Linked DNA regions of Homo sapiens: region 1 is linked to region 2. Evidence: promoter capture Hi-C in human tissues and cell types (Jung and others, 2019). All regions are on one chromosome and are shown on one strand. The core of a region is centred on a gene start or on the middle of the fragment in contact, and the rest is flanking DNA. Distances in the headings are between cores, read along the strand shown.

Region 1 (5,657 bases), core at 3,138-5,637, 580 kb after region 2:
GTGGCGGTCGCCTGTAATCCCAGCTACTCAGGAGGCTGAGGCAGAGAATGGCTTGAACCTGGGAGGCAGAGGCTGCAGTGAGCTGAGATGGCACCACTGCACTCCAGCCTGGGCGACAGAGCGAGACTCTGTCTGAAAAAAAAAAAGAAAAAAGAAAAAAAAAGTTGGTTTTGTTGGCACTCGCTGTCTAACAACTACCAAATTGCAGTTAGAAAACTTTTCACATTAGTGTAGGAAACTTTTTGCAGGCCTAGTTCCTCGATAGCCAAAGGCCAGCTTTGTAAGCAGGCCCTTCTAACGACAGCAGCCTCAAGGCTGATACGTTAACTCTTTTGTGCATAATATCTTACCCTCTGGAGTATCAAGAAGAGATAACAAAAATATTTTTGAATCTCAGAGCAGAAATCAGACCATGAAAGTAGTCTTATTAAAAGGAGAAAAAGTCCTCATCTTTTTAAAAGCAAGATCATGCTAGAGCTTCCAAGTTAAGATTTTTCAATCAGTGTGCTTTGATAAGCCACACTGGCTCATTCCTTTGATCATACATACTCTTCTTTTCGAGATGGAGTCTCACTCTGCCGCCCAGGCTGGAATGCAGTGGTGGGATCTCGGCTCACTGCCACCTCCGCCTCCTGGGTTCAAGCGATTCTCCTGCCTCAGCCTCCTGAGTAGCTGAGACTACAGGCGTACCACCATGCCCAGCTAATTTTTTTTTTGTATTTTTAGTAGAGACGGGGTTTCACCATGTTGGCCAGGATGGTCTCGATCTCTTGACCTTGTGATGTGCCCGCCTCGGCCTCCCAAAGTGCTGGGATTACAAGCGTGAGCCACCGGACCTGGCCATACATACTCTTCTTTGCTACTAAGTTCTTTTTTTCTGTGTCTGGCAAATTCCTATTTGTTCTTCAAACCCATTCCTGAGTTAAATCATTCACTTTTGTGTTATCTCCACTGTTGCATTCATTACATCCTATTGTTAGTTAGTTGTTTACTTATATATCTTTCCTACAAAATTCTGAGTCCCCTGATGGCATGAATTTTGTCTCATCTTTGTACTCCTAAGGTCAAATACATAGACCCTCAATTTAGTAACAATATATAATAAATGGTATGGAAACATCATATATTAGTCCTTAAAAAATTATTTGGAAACTAAATTTAATAGAAGGCTTAATATCATACACCAAATAAGTAATAATAATAACCTAACTTTTTTGAGATGGAGTCTTGCTCTGTCGCCAGGCTGTAGTGCAGTGGTGCGATCTCGGCTCACCGCAACCTCCACCTCCTGGATTCATGTGATTCTCCTGCCTCATCTTCCCGAGTAGCTGGGACTATACAGGTGCATACCACCATGCCCAGCTAATTTTTGTATTTTTAGTAGAGATGGGGTTTCACCATGTGGGCCAGGATGGTCTCCATCTCTTGACCTCGTGATCCGCCCGCCTCAGCCTCCCAAAATGCTGAGATTACAGGTATGAGCCACCATGCCTGGCCAGCCTAACTTTTAAGATGGAATTAGTTATGGCAGGATTAACAAAATCAAATATCACATCTTATAGAAGAATTTTTAGTGATCAATGTGAGGTGTATGTTCTAAATTTCATCTCATAAAAGCAAAATAAGGTCTGAATATCAAACAAAGCAAAATACAATAAGACATCAAAGAGTAAATACCACTAAATCAACCACAGTAACCCTGAGACACTGGAGTCTCTATGAGAAAGAAACATATTTGGATAATTATTGATCTCTAAATTTTAAATGAACTTAAATCTTTCTTAAGAACACATGATGGCCGGGCGCGGTGGCTCACACTTGTAATCCCAGCACTTTGGGAGGCCGAGGTGGGCAGATTGCCTGAGGCTGGGAGTTCAAGACCAGCCTGGCCAACATGGAGAAACTCTGTCTACTAAAAAAACTAGAAAATTAGCCAGGCATGGTGGCGCATGCCTGTAATCCCAGCTACTCAGGAGGCTGAGGCAGGATAATCGCTTGAACCCAGGAGGCGGAGGTTGCGGTGAGCCGACATCATCGCACCATTGCACTCCATCCTGGGCAAAAACAGTGAAACTTTGTCTCAAAAAAAAAAAGATCTGTATTTTTTAAACTTTTGGAATTGTCTTGTTTTTAAAATTTGATCTGCCACAAAAAACTTTAAAGTTTAACAGTCCCGTGGGAATTACTCGTTCCTGTTAGTAAATAACCATAAATGAAGGTCACATATCTGTAAACCATGCACACATTTCCCACCTGGGACTAACTGGTTCAAAGAAAGTCAGCATAGCAGGCTCGTGACTGCAGGACACCAAGAATTGTAGTCTGATGACTAGCAAACCAGCTCAATGTTTTGTTCATATTAGAAGTAACTCTTAATTACTTACTCTACCTTAAATTTAGGCCTCAACAATTTTAGTCCCCAATTAATGGGTCTGTATATTTGATAATTCTAACATTTTGGTTAAATAATAATTTATGAACATTACCAGCTATACAGTAGCTGAGTGGTAGAATATTTATTTAGAGAGCCAAGAGCTGACAAAGAAAATTAAAGGTTGAAACAAATTTTATATCTTTCTTTTTGAGACAGGGTCTCATCATGCACTGCCGCCTTGACCTCCCAAGCTTAGGTGATCCTCCTACCTCAGGCTCCAGAGTAGCTGGGATTACAGGTATGAGCCTTTATATCATTTTATTTCAAAATGCTAAAAGCCTTAAATTCTATGATGTAAGCAAAAAAGAAACCCACATTTTTAGGTAACAAAATCAACTTAGAAGAGAAATACTGTACAAGATGGTGACTATATGTAATAATATATTGTAGGCTGGGCGCGGTGGCTCATGCCTGTAATCCCAGCACTTTGGGAGGCCAAGGTGGGCGGATCACGAGGTCAGGAGATCGAGATCATCCTGGCTAAATGGTGAAACCCTGTCTCTACTAAAAATACAAAAAATTAGCCAGGCGTGGTGGTGGGTGCCTGTAGTCGCAGCTACTCAGGAGGCTGAGGCAGGAGAATGGCATGAACCCGGGAGGCGGAGCTTGCAGTGAGCCGAGATCGCGCCACTGTACTCCAGCCTGGGTGACAGAGACTCCGTCTCAAAAACAAAGAAACAAACAATAATAATAATAATAATATATTGTAATTGCTGAATAGAAATTTCAAGTGTTTTCACCACAAAAAATGTGAGGTAATGGTATGTTAATTAGCTCAATTTTGCCATCCCACAATGTATACATATTTCAAAACATCATGTTGTATACAATAAATAGATATTATTTATTTCATTTCACTTTTTTTTTTTTTGAGACAGAGTCTCACTCTGTCACCCAGGCTGGAGTGCAGTGGCATGGTCTCAGCTCACTGCAACCTCCGCTTCCTAGGTTCAAGGGATCCTCCCACCTCAGCTTCCCAAGTAGCTGGGACTATAGGCATGTGCCACCACACCCGGCTAATGTTTGTATTTTTACTAGGGACAGGGTTACACCATGTTGGCCAGGCTAGTCTTGAACTCCTGACCTCAGGTGATCCACCCACCTCGGCCTCTGAAAGTGCTGGGATTACAGGGTGAGCCACCTTGCCTGGCCTTCACTTCACTTATTTTTATTTTTTTTGAGACAGTGTATTGCTGTCGCTCAGGCTCAGTGCAGTGGTGCAATCATGGATCACTGTAGCCTGGATCTCCCAGGCTCAACCCACCTCAGCCTCCCTAGGAGCTAGGACTACTAGGATTACAGGTGTGCGCTTAATTTTGTGTGCAGCTAATTTTGGTATTTTTTGTAGAGCTGGGGTTTCGCTATGTTGCCCAGGCTGGTCTCAAACTCCTGGGCTCAAGCTATCCATCCACTTTGGCCTCCCAAAGTGCTGGGATTACAGGTGCAAGCCACCACGGCCAGCCCAAAATATTTTGTTTCTGTCAATTAAAAAAACAGGCTGGGCACAGTGGCTCATGCCTGTAATCCCAGTACTTTGGGAGGCTGAGGCAGGAGGATCACTTGAGGCCAGGAGTTTGAGACCAGCCTGGGCAAAATGATGAAACCCCATCTCTACTAAAAAATACAAACAATTTAGCCGGGCATGGTGGCATGCACCTCTAATCCCAGCTACCTGGGAGGCTGAGGCAGGAGAATTGCTGGAACCCGGGAGGTAGAGACCGCAGTGAGTCAAGACTGTGCCACTGCACTCCAGCATGGGTGACAGAGCAAGACTCTGTATCACACACACACACAAAAAGTCCAGCCTGGGCAACACAGTATGTTATCCTTGCCACCAAAAAAAAAACAAAAAACAAAAAACAAAAAAAAAAACAACCCACAAAACACAAAACATACACACACACAGACACATAAATAGCCATAGAATAATCTGTATTCTAGAGAGGGTCCTCCTGGGTATCACTTCTTTTTCTATAATAAGGGCAAGTCTTCTGCTTTTAGAAATAACAGGCTGTTATGGGATCACTCATAATTCTTAATCCAGGAGTCACTAACCAGCTTTGTCTCTAACAAAAACCTAAGAATAACCTCAAGTGTGCTGTGGCTACAAGGTAAAAATAAGTCATTTCTAGTTTTCAGCTGCCATGAGATATAACCAGGATATGTCAAGCTCAGTTAGAGAAGTCATATTTCACTGGATTTAGTATATATTTACTACCAGTAAATATCGGTACTAAAAACACTAGCAAACTTTCAGTCACTTTTTTTTTTGAGTTGGAGTTTTGCTGTTGTTGCCCAGGCTGGAGTGCAGTGGCGCCATCTCGGCTCACTGCAACCTCCGCCTCCTGGGTTCAAGTGATTCTCCTGCCTCAGCCTCTCAAGTAGCTGGGATTACAAGCATGCGCCACCACGCCCGGCTGATTTTATATTTTTAGTAGAGATGCGGTTTACCATGTTGGTCAGACTGGTCTTGAACTCCTGACCTCAGGTGATCCACCTGCCTTGGCCTCCCAAAGTGTTGGGATTACAGGTGTGAGCCACCGCGTCCGGCCCCTTTTCTTTTTTTTGATATAGAGTCTCCCTCTTGTCGCCCAGGTTGGAGTGCAGTGGCATGATCTTGACTCACTGCAATCTCCACCTCCCGGGTAATAGCGATTCTCTTGCCTCAGCCTCCTGAGTAGCCAGGACTACAGGTGTGCGCCACCATACCTGGCTAATTTTTGGTAGAGACGGGGTTTCGCCACGTTGGCCAGACTGGTCTTGAACTCCTGACCTCAGGTGATCCACCTGCCTCGACCTCCCAAAGTGCTGGGATTACAGGCATGAGCCACTACACATGGCCAGTCACTGTTTTAACATATCTATTAATTTAACTAACAATACAGTATTTTATTATTTTATTTTACTATTTTTTTGAGACAGATTATCACTCTGTCGCCCAGGCTGGAGTGCAATGGCATGATCTAGGCTAACTGCAACCTCCGTCTCCCAGGTTCATGCAATTCTCCAGCCTCAGCCTCCCGAGTAGCTGGGATTACAGGAGTGTGCCACCATGCCAAGCTATTTTTCATTTTTTAGTAGAGACAGGGTTTCACCGTGTTGGCCAGGCTGGTCTCAAACTCCTGACCTCAAATGATCCACCTGCCTTGGCCTCCCAAAGTACTGGGATTATATAGGTGAGTCACTGTGCCCAGCCACAATACACAGTATTTTAGATAAAAAA
Region 2 (6,029 bases), core at 2,695-5,194:
GAACGTGCATTTCTAGTCATTGCCCGGTGATGCTGATTCTGTTGGTCTTGGCACCATACGTGGAGGAGCACTGCTCTAAGGGGAAAGGGCCTCCTCCCCGAGGCCAAGGAATTCACTGCAACTTGATTTTTCTCCCCGTTTAAAAAAGTTAAAATATAACTCACATACCATAAACTTAGTCCTTTTAAAGTGTACAATTCAGTGGTTTTTAATGTAGTCACAAAGTTGTACAAGCATCACCACTAATTCCAGAATTATTTTGAGACAGGATCTCACTCTGTTACCCTGGTTGGAGTGCAGTAGTGCAATCACTGCTCATTGCAGCCTCAACCTCCTGAGCTCAAGTAATCCTCCTGCCTCAGCCTCTGGGGTAGCTGGGACCACAGGCTAATTTGATTTTTTTGATGAGGTCTCACTATGTTGCCCCAGGCTGGTCTCGAACTCATGGCCTCAAGTGATCCTCCTCCCTCAGCCTTCCAAAGTGTTGGAATTACACACATGAGCCACTGCATCTGGTCTCAGAACATTTTTCTTAGCCCCAAAAGAAACCCCATACCCATTGGCAGTCACTCCACATTCTCCCTACCTGCCAGCGCCTCACAATTCACTTCCTGTCTTTAGAGATTTGCGTATTCTGAACATTTCATGTAAGTGGAGTAATGCAGTATGTGGCCCTCTGTGTCTGGTTTCTTTCCTTAGGATAATGTTTTCAAGGTTCATCCATGTTGTAGCATATGCAATTTGATTTTAGCTGGTGTCTGAACAGAAAAGTCTGTCTTTGAGCTAGCTTCTTTAGGACAGGAGACCTGGCTTTATTTCCAAAAGCAAATAGGAAAAGGGAAACATTACCAGAGCCAGTAGAGCTTGGAAACAACTCCTGACTGATGTTCTTTCAGAACATACAATGTTTCCCCTTCCTTCTCAGCTCCTCAAGCCTCTTGGATTTCCTGTTCTCTTATAGACAACTGCTCTTTTGGAAATGTCTGGAAGGTATGTGGTGGCTATAATGTTCAGGGACATTCTAAAAAGTGGTCACTCAAACTGCATCTCAGTCTCATTTTGTAACATCTCTCTTCTTTGAGTTGGCTGCTGTGGGATGTTGAATAAGAGGCAGTTAAGGTTACTAAAAGGCCTTGGTGTGGGAAGTGCTAATCCAGACTGTCCTATCCAATAGCTCAGCTTGAGCTTTCAGGTAAAAGGAGAAAGGGAAGTTGGGGCAAAATCCCCTGTGTTTGCCAAACTGAATTGGGGTTTCTTATTTATTGAGAGAAAGAGGGTATCACTTTCTTGCCCAGGCTGGAGTGCAATGGTATGATCATGACTCATTGCTTCCTCAGCCTCCTGGACTCAAGTGATCCTCCTGCCTTAGCCTCCCGAGTAGCTTCTTTTTCCTGAGTTCGGCTAGAATAGCATGGGTAAAAGGTTCCATTGCTCGGGAGAGGAGGAGGAAGGGAAGAAGAAGAGGTATAGAAGCTTCCTTTTGATCCAAGGTCTTTTCCTCAATCCTGGCTAGAACCAGAATCCTAAAGGTTTCCTGACTACAGGTACATGCCACCATGCCCAGCTAATTTTTAAATTTTTTGTAGACAGAGGGCCTCACTATGTTTCCCAGGTTGGTCTTGAACCCCTGACCTCAAGCAATCCTCATGCCTTGGCCTCCCAAAGTGTTGGGATTACAGGCGTGAGCCACTACATCCCACCTGGGGTTTCTTAGTGATGATGAAACCTAGCCTTTATGTGGAAGACTTACAACTTTTTGAGGCCAGGAATTAGAGACCTTGTGCCATGAAAATAATTTGGTCCTTCCCTAGTACTCAATTTTTACTTCTCCTCTAAGGAGCTTGACTTGTGGAATGGATAAATTTCTAAGAAACGAGAGATTGGCAAAAATACGTGTCACTTTTTATAGTACTTGGAAAAGCAGGATCAAGATAAAGGCAGAACTATGGACTTTCTTAAGCTGAGGGAAGACTGACTTAACTCTTACCTGTTTCCCATTTTTCCAACACTTAAGCCAAGAACAACTTCCTCTGGGCTCAGATGTGGGCTAGACTGGGCCAGGCTGTAAAACACTTTGACAGGTTTTTGAGAGGAAATTGACTGCTAAAGTCAACTGTGTTATTTGCCATGGGTCTTCCTTTGTCCATTTATTTTACCAACTTTTTTTTTTCTTTTTTTTTTGAGACAGAGTCTCACTCTGTCACCTAGGGTGGAGTGCAGTGGCACAGTCTTGGCTCACTGCAACCTCTGCCTCCCAGGTTCAAGCGATTCTTCTGCTTTAGCCTCCTGAGTAGCTGGGACTACAGGCATGCACCACCACGCCTGGCTAATTTTTTGTATTTTTAGTAGAGATTGGGTTTCACAATGTTGGCCAGGCTCGAACTCCTGACCATGTGATCCGCCCACCTCGGCCTCCCAAAGTGCTGGGATTACAGGCAGGAGCCACCGCACCTGGCCTTTTTTTTTTTTTGAGACAGGGTCTCACTCTGTTGCCCAGGCTGGAGTACAGTGGCACAATCAAGGCTCATTGCAGCTTCAATCTCCCTAGCTCTGGTGATTGTCCCACCTCAGCCTCCCAAGTAGCTGGGACTACAAGTGTGCACCACCATGCTTGGCTAATTTGGCTAATTTAGTTTTTTTATTTTTGTAGAGACAGGGTTCTCTCCATGTTGCCCAGGCTGGTTTCAAACTCCTGAGCTCAAGGGATCTACCTGCCTCAGCCTCCCAAAGGGCTAGGATTATAAGCATGAGCCACCACACCTGGCTATTTTACCAACATTGATCAAGCTCTGGTTGAGCCTTGTACAGGATATTATAGGCTTTAAAAGAAGAAGAAGAAAGACCTGGTATGCTGTACAAAAAACTGCAAACCAGGCACGCAGATATAAGTGTTACAAGAATCCAGAAGAAGCAGCAAGGAGATGGGGCTAGGAGTTTGTAAGCAGGGAACTGTATCTGTAATATGTAAATGAAGTTACTGGGCATCTCTTCAATGGTCAGTGTGAGTGGAATGTGTGGGAAAATGTAGTGGTGAGAGGTGAGATAAAGAGAAGTAGACAGGGACGAAGTCACAGAGAGGACCGTGTTGGGAAGTTTGGACTCTCTATTCTGTAGGTAGATGAAGTATTTAAAAGAAGAGGCCATGATATAGTAATATTTGGTTTAATGTGGTATGGTTGTAGTGTGTGGCGGAAATTTGAGAGGAAGAATTGTCAACTTGCAGGGCAGCAGGGAAGCCATTTGTATTTAGCTAGAAGAACATGGATTGAAGCAATGGATGATGGATTTCAGAGCAATTTGTGAAGTAGAACCAGAATTTTGTCCGTCGAACTTGGGGTGACGAAGCACTATGCCTCAGATAAAGGTACTATCTTCTAGGGAATTCAAACGGACCTAAGCTGCTATTTGGGCAGTTGAGACCAAGAGAGGCATCCTGGTAATAGTGCTGTGCTTCAAGACAAAAGACATTAAAATATTTTTACATTGCAATTGTTTTCCTCTTCAGGAGCGCCTGGTTACCTTTCAGGAATAATTTATTTTCCAACACCCTTGAGAAACATTAAACCTTTTTTCTTTTTTTGATGTGGAAAACTGGAAAACTAGTACTTCCGCCACACTCAAGATGGCTACATCAGAAATAGACTTTTCCATCCACCTGGGTGGCCCCGCCCCCTTATGAAGCTGCTTCCGCCACTCTCTGCGGGTTGGGACGAATTTTACACTTCTTCGCAGCATTCAAGATGGTCCGGCTTCCTCCTACTTTTTATTGGCTGCATCGCTTCGTCTTCAGGGGAAGGCGGGACTTATATTTGATCGACAGCTACATTGATCAATGGACAAAGGGCAAAGGCCAATGAAGCGCTGGAACTGGAGAGTCTCTCGCGTGTCTGGGAGGGTGTTTTGCGCGGGGCGGGGTGGAGCAGAGCCGGAAGCGGGAGGGGAGCGTCAAACAGGAAAAGAAGGGAAGAAGGAAGAAGAGGGTAGAGGAGGAGAGGGAGGAGGAGGAGGGAGGTGGCGGCGCCGTGGCGGAGGAGCAGGAGCAGGAGGGGGATGGAGAGGAGAAGGCTCCTGGGTGGCATGGCGCTCCTGCTCCTCCAGGCGCTGCCCAGCCCCTTGTCAGCCAGGGCTGAACCCCCGCAGGTAAGGGGGAGGGGGCGTCTGGGCCATGTTGGGTCCTGGGGGTCGTCGAGGCCTGGCTGGAGGGGTCTGAAGGAGTGTTGTTGCCAAGAGTTGAGGGGTCCCGAGAGGGGCGTCTATGCCTGGCGTGGACAGGATCTAAAGGGGCGTCGGTATTTAGCTGAGGGACACCTGTGACAGTTTTGGTGTCAAGGAGGTGGCAGAGGCATGATGCCAAGCGAGTGAGGGGCGTTTGAGACGGCAGGTTGGTTAGGTGGGCTGGGGTGACTGTGGCTGGATAGCGGTGCCAAGCTGAGGATGTGGGCCTTATTCGTGTCCCTCTGTGGAGCAGGTGTCCCAGGCAGTAATGCAGTATGTACGTCTGTGTGTGTAGGGGTACACAGGCTATTGAGTTGGCCTGTGAGGGAGGGGATCCTGAGGATATTTCTTTAAGGATGGACTGGGGAAAGTTCCGAGGGCATCTTAGTACGTTTAAAAAAAATTACTATGTTCCTGGGAGAGACTTGGCCCCATTTTAAAATCTGTAAGCCATGGCGCACTTGGTTGGAGGGAGGACTCTCAGAAGGCAGGTGGGATGAAACAGAGTGGAACCCCTCAGGAGGAGGAGCACACTTGAGCTGTAACAAGCTCTTGCTGTTAGGCTGGCTGGCCTGGGAGAGCAAGTCACGGATGCTGATCTGAGCCAGCTCAGGGCTTTTGACCAGAGGGTGGTTCTGATGCCAATATGGGCAGCAAATGGAGCACCCTAGCTTTTCTTGCTGGGTGGCTTGCTCTTTATCCAGGCAGAGAAGCTTGCTTGTGCTGATTCCAGCTCCAGCTGGCATTTCAAAACCCTAATGGGAGCGTTACTCCTGGTGCCAAGTTGGGTGGGGTGCAGTGGGGGCAATCACCCCTCCTTCCTTGCATGTGGCAAAGCTTTATGATTCTTTTTTCTTCACTTTCTGTTCTTTTCCCCGTTTTTTCAGAAAGGCATACACACATAGACGCATAGCGTAGTGGCAAAGTTTATACAACTTAGCGCTTGAACTTGTGTTGTGAACAAGAGCAGAAACTGAGTGCCAGCAAAAATACTTATCTTTTCCCTAGGAGTTTTAGGGCTGCCTTTTCACAAATACATCTTGTTTTGCCCATTATCCTCTATTTTAAAATACTGATTAAAAAATAAGTTGAAATTCACATGACAAAAACCATTTTAAAGTGAACAATTCAGTGGCATTTAGTACACTTACAATGTTGTGCAACTACCACCTCTATCTAGTTCCAAAACATTTTCATCACCCCAATAGAAAACCTCGTCCCTACTAAGCAGTTACTCTCTGTCTCCCTTTTCCCCCAGCCCCTGGCAACCACCCGTCTGCTTTCAGTCTCTATGGATTTATCTATTCTGGATATTTTATATAAACGGGATCCTACAATATGTGGTCTTTGTGCCTGGCTCCTTTCACTTAGCGTAATGTTTATAAGGCCCATCCACATCGTAGCATGTACTAGTACTTCATTCCTGTTCATGACCAAGTAACATTCTGTTATCTGTAAACCACAATTTATTTATGCATTGAAGTGTCTAATTTTTCCTCAGGATATGTTTGTGTATACTAGAAATACCATGTGAAAGGAATGTAGCTCATTTTCTAGCCCAGTGTATTCCCTTTTCGAGGGTTGGGACCCTTCTGTTTTAGCCTTTGTTGGGGTTGTTTTTCCAGTGGAAATCATAAACTGGCAGAAGAAATATATTTTTTTTGTTTACTAGAAATGTTATAGCCCTCAGGACCAGTAAAGTTAAGTATAGGTATTGACAACAAAATATAGAATATAGTAAATACAGAATTTACTTTTCCTTTGCACATGTCTGTTTCTGTAAGTATCTCGAAAAGGCTGTCCCCAGTAACCAA

The links. Contacts are between HindIII fragments. The study calls those that stand out against the background at their distance.
Region 1: a fragment that was not itself captured here is called in contact with the fragment with the promoter of WBP1L in region 2 in 1 of the 25 tissues and cell types used here (mesendoderm cells).

The regions. Positions count from the first base shown.
Region 1 is chr10:103,318,609-103,324,265 of GRCh38, forward strand. All of the region lies in intron 8 of PCGF6 (polycomb group ring finger 6), which reads right to left. Among named protein-coding and RNA genes, the nearest start is that of PCGF6, 30 kb to the right of the region's middle. The HindIII fragment of the contact is 7,312 bases long and covers 732-5,657 here.
Region 2 is chr10:102,740,004-102,746,032 of GRCh38, forward strand. WBP1L (WW domain binding protein 1 like) reads left to right here and starts at 3,945. Exons shown (of 4, transcript NM_001083913.2): 1 at 3,945-4,140. The coding sequence starts at 4,051. It overlaps SFXN2 (sideroflexin 2), which reads left to right. Exons shown (of 12, transcript NM_178858.6): 12 at 1-3,489. RefSeq lists enhancers at 3,592-3,641, 4,582-4,811 and a silencer at 3,922-4,081. The HindIII fragment of the contact is 7,220 bases long and covers 1-6,029 here.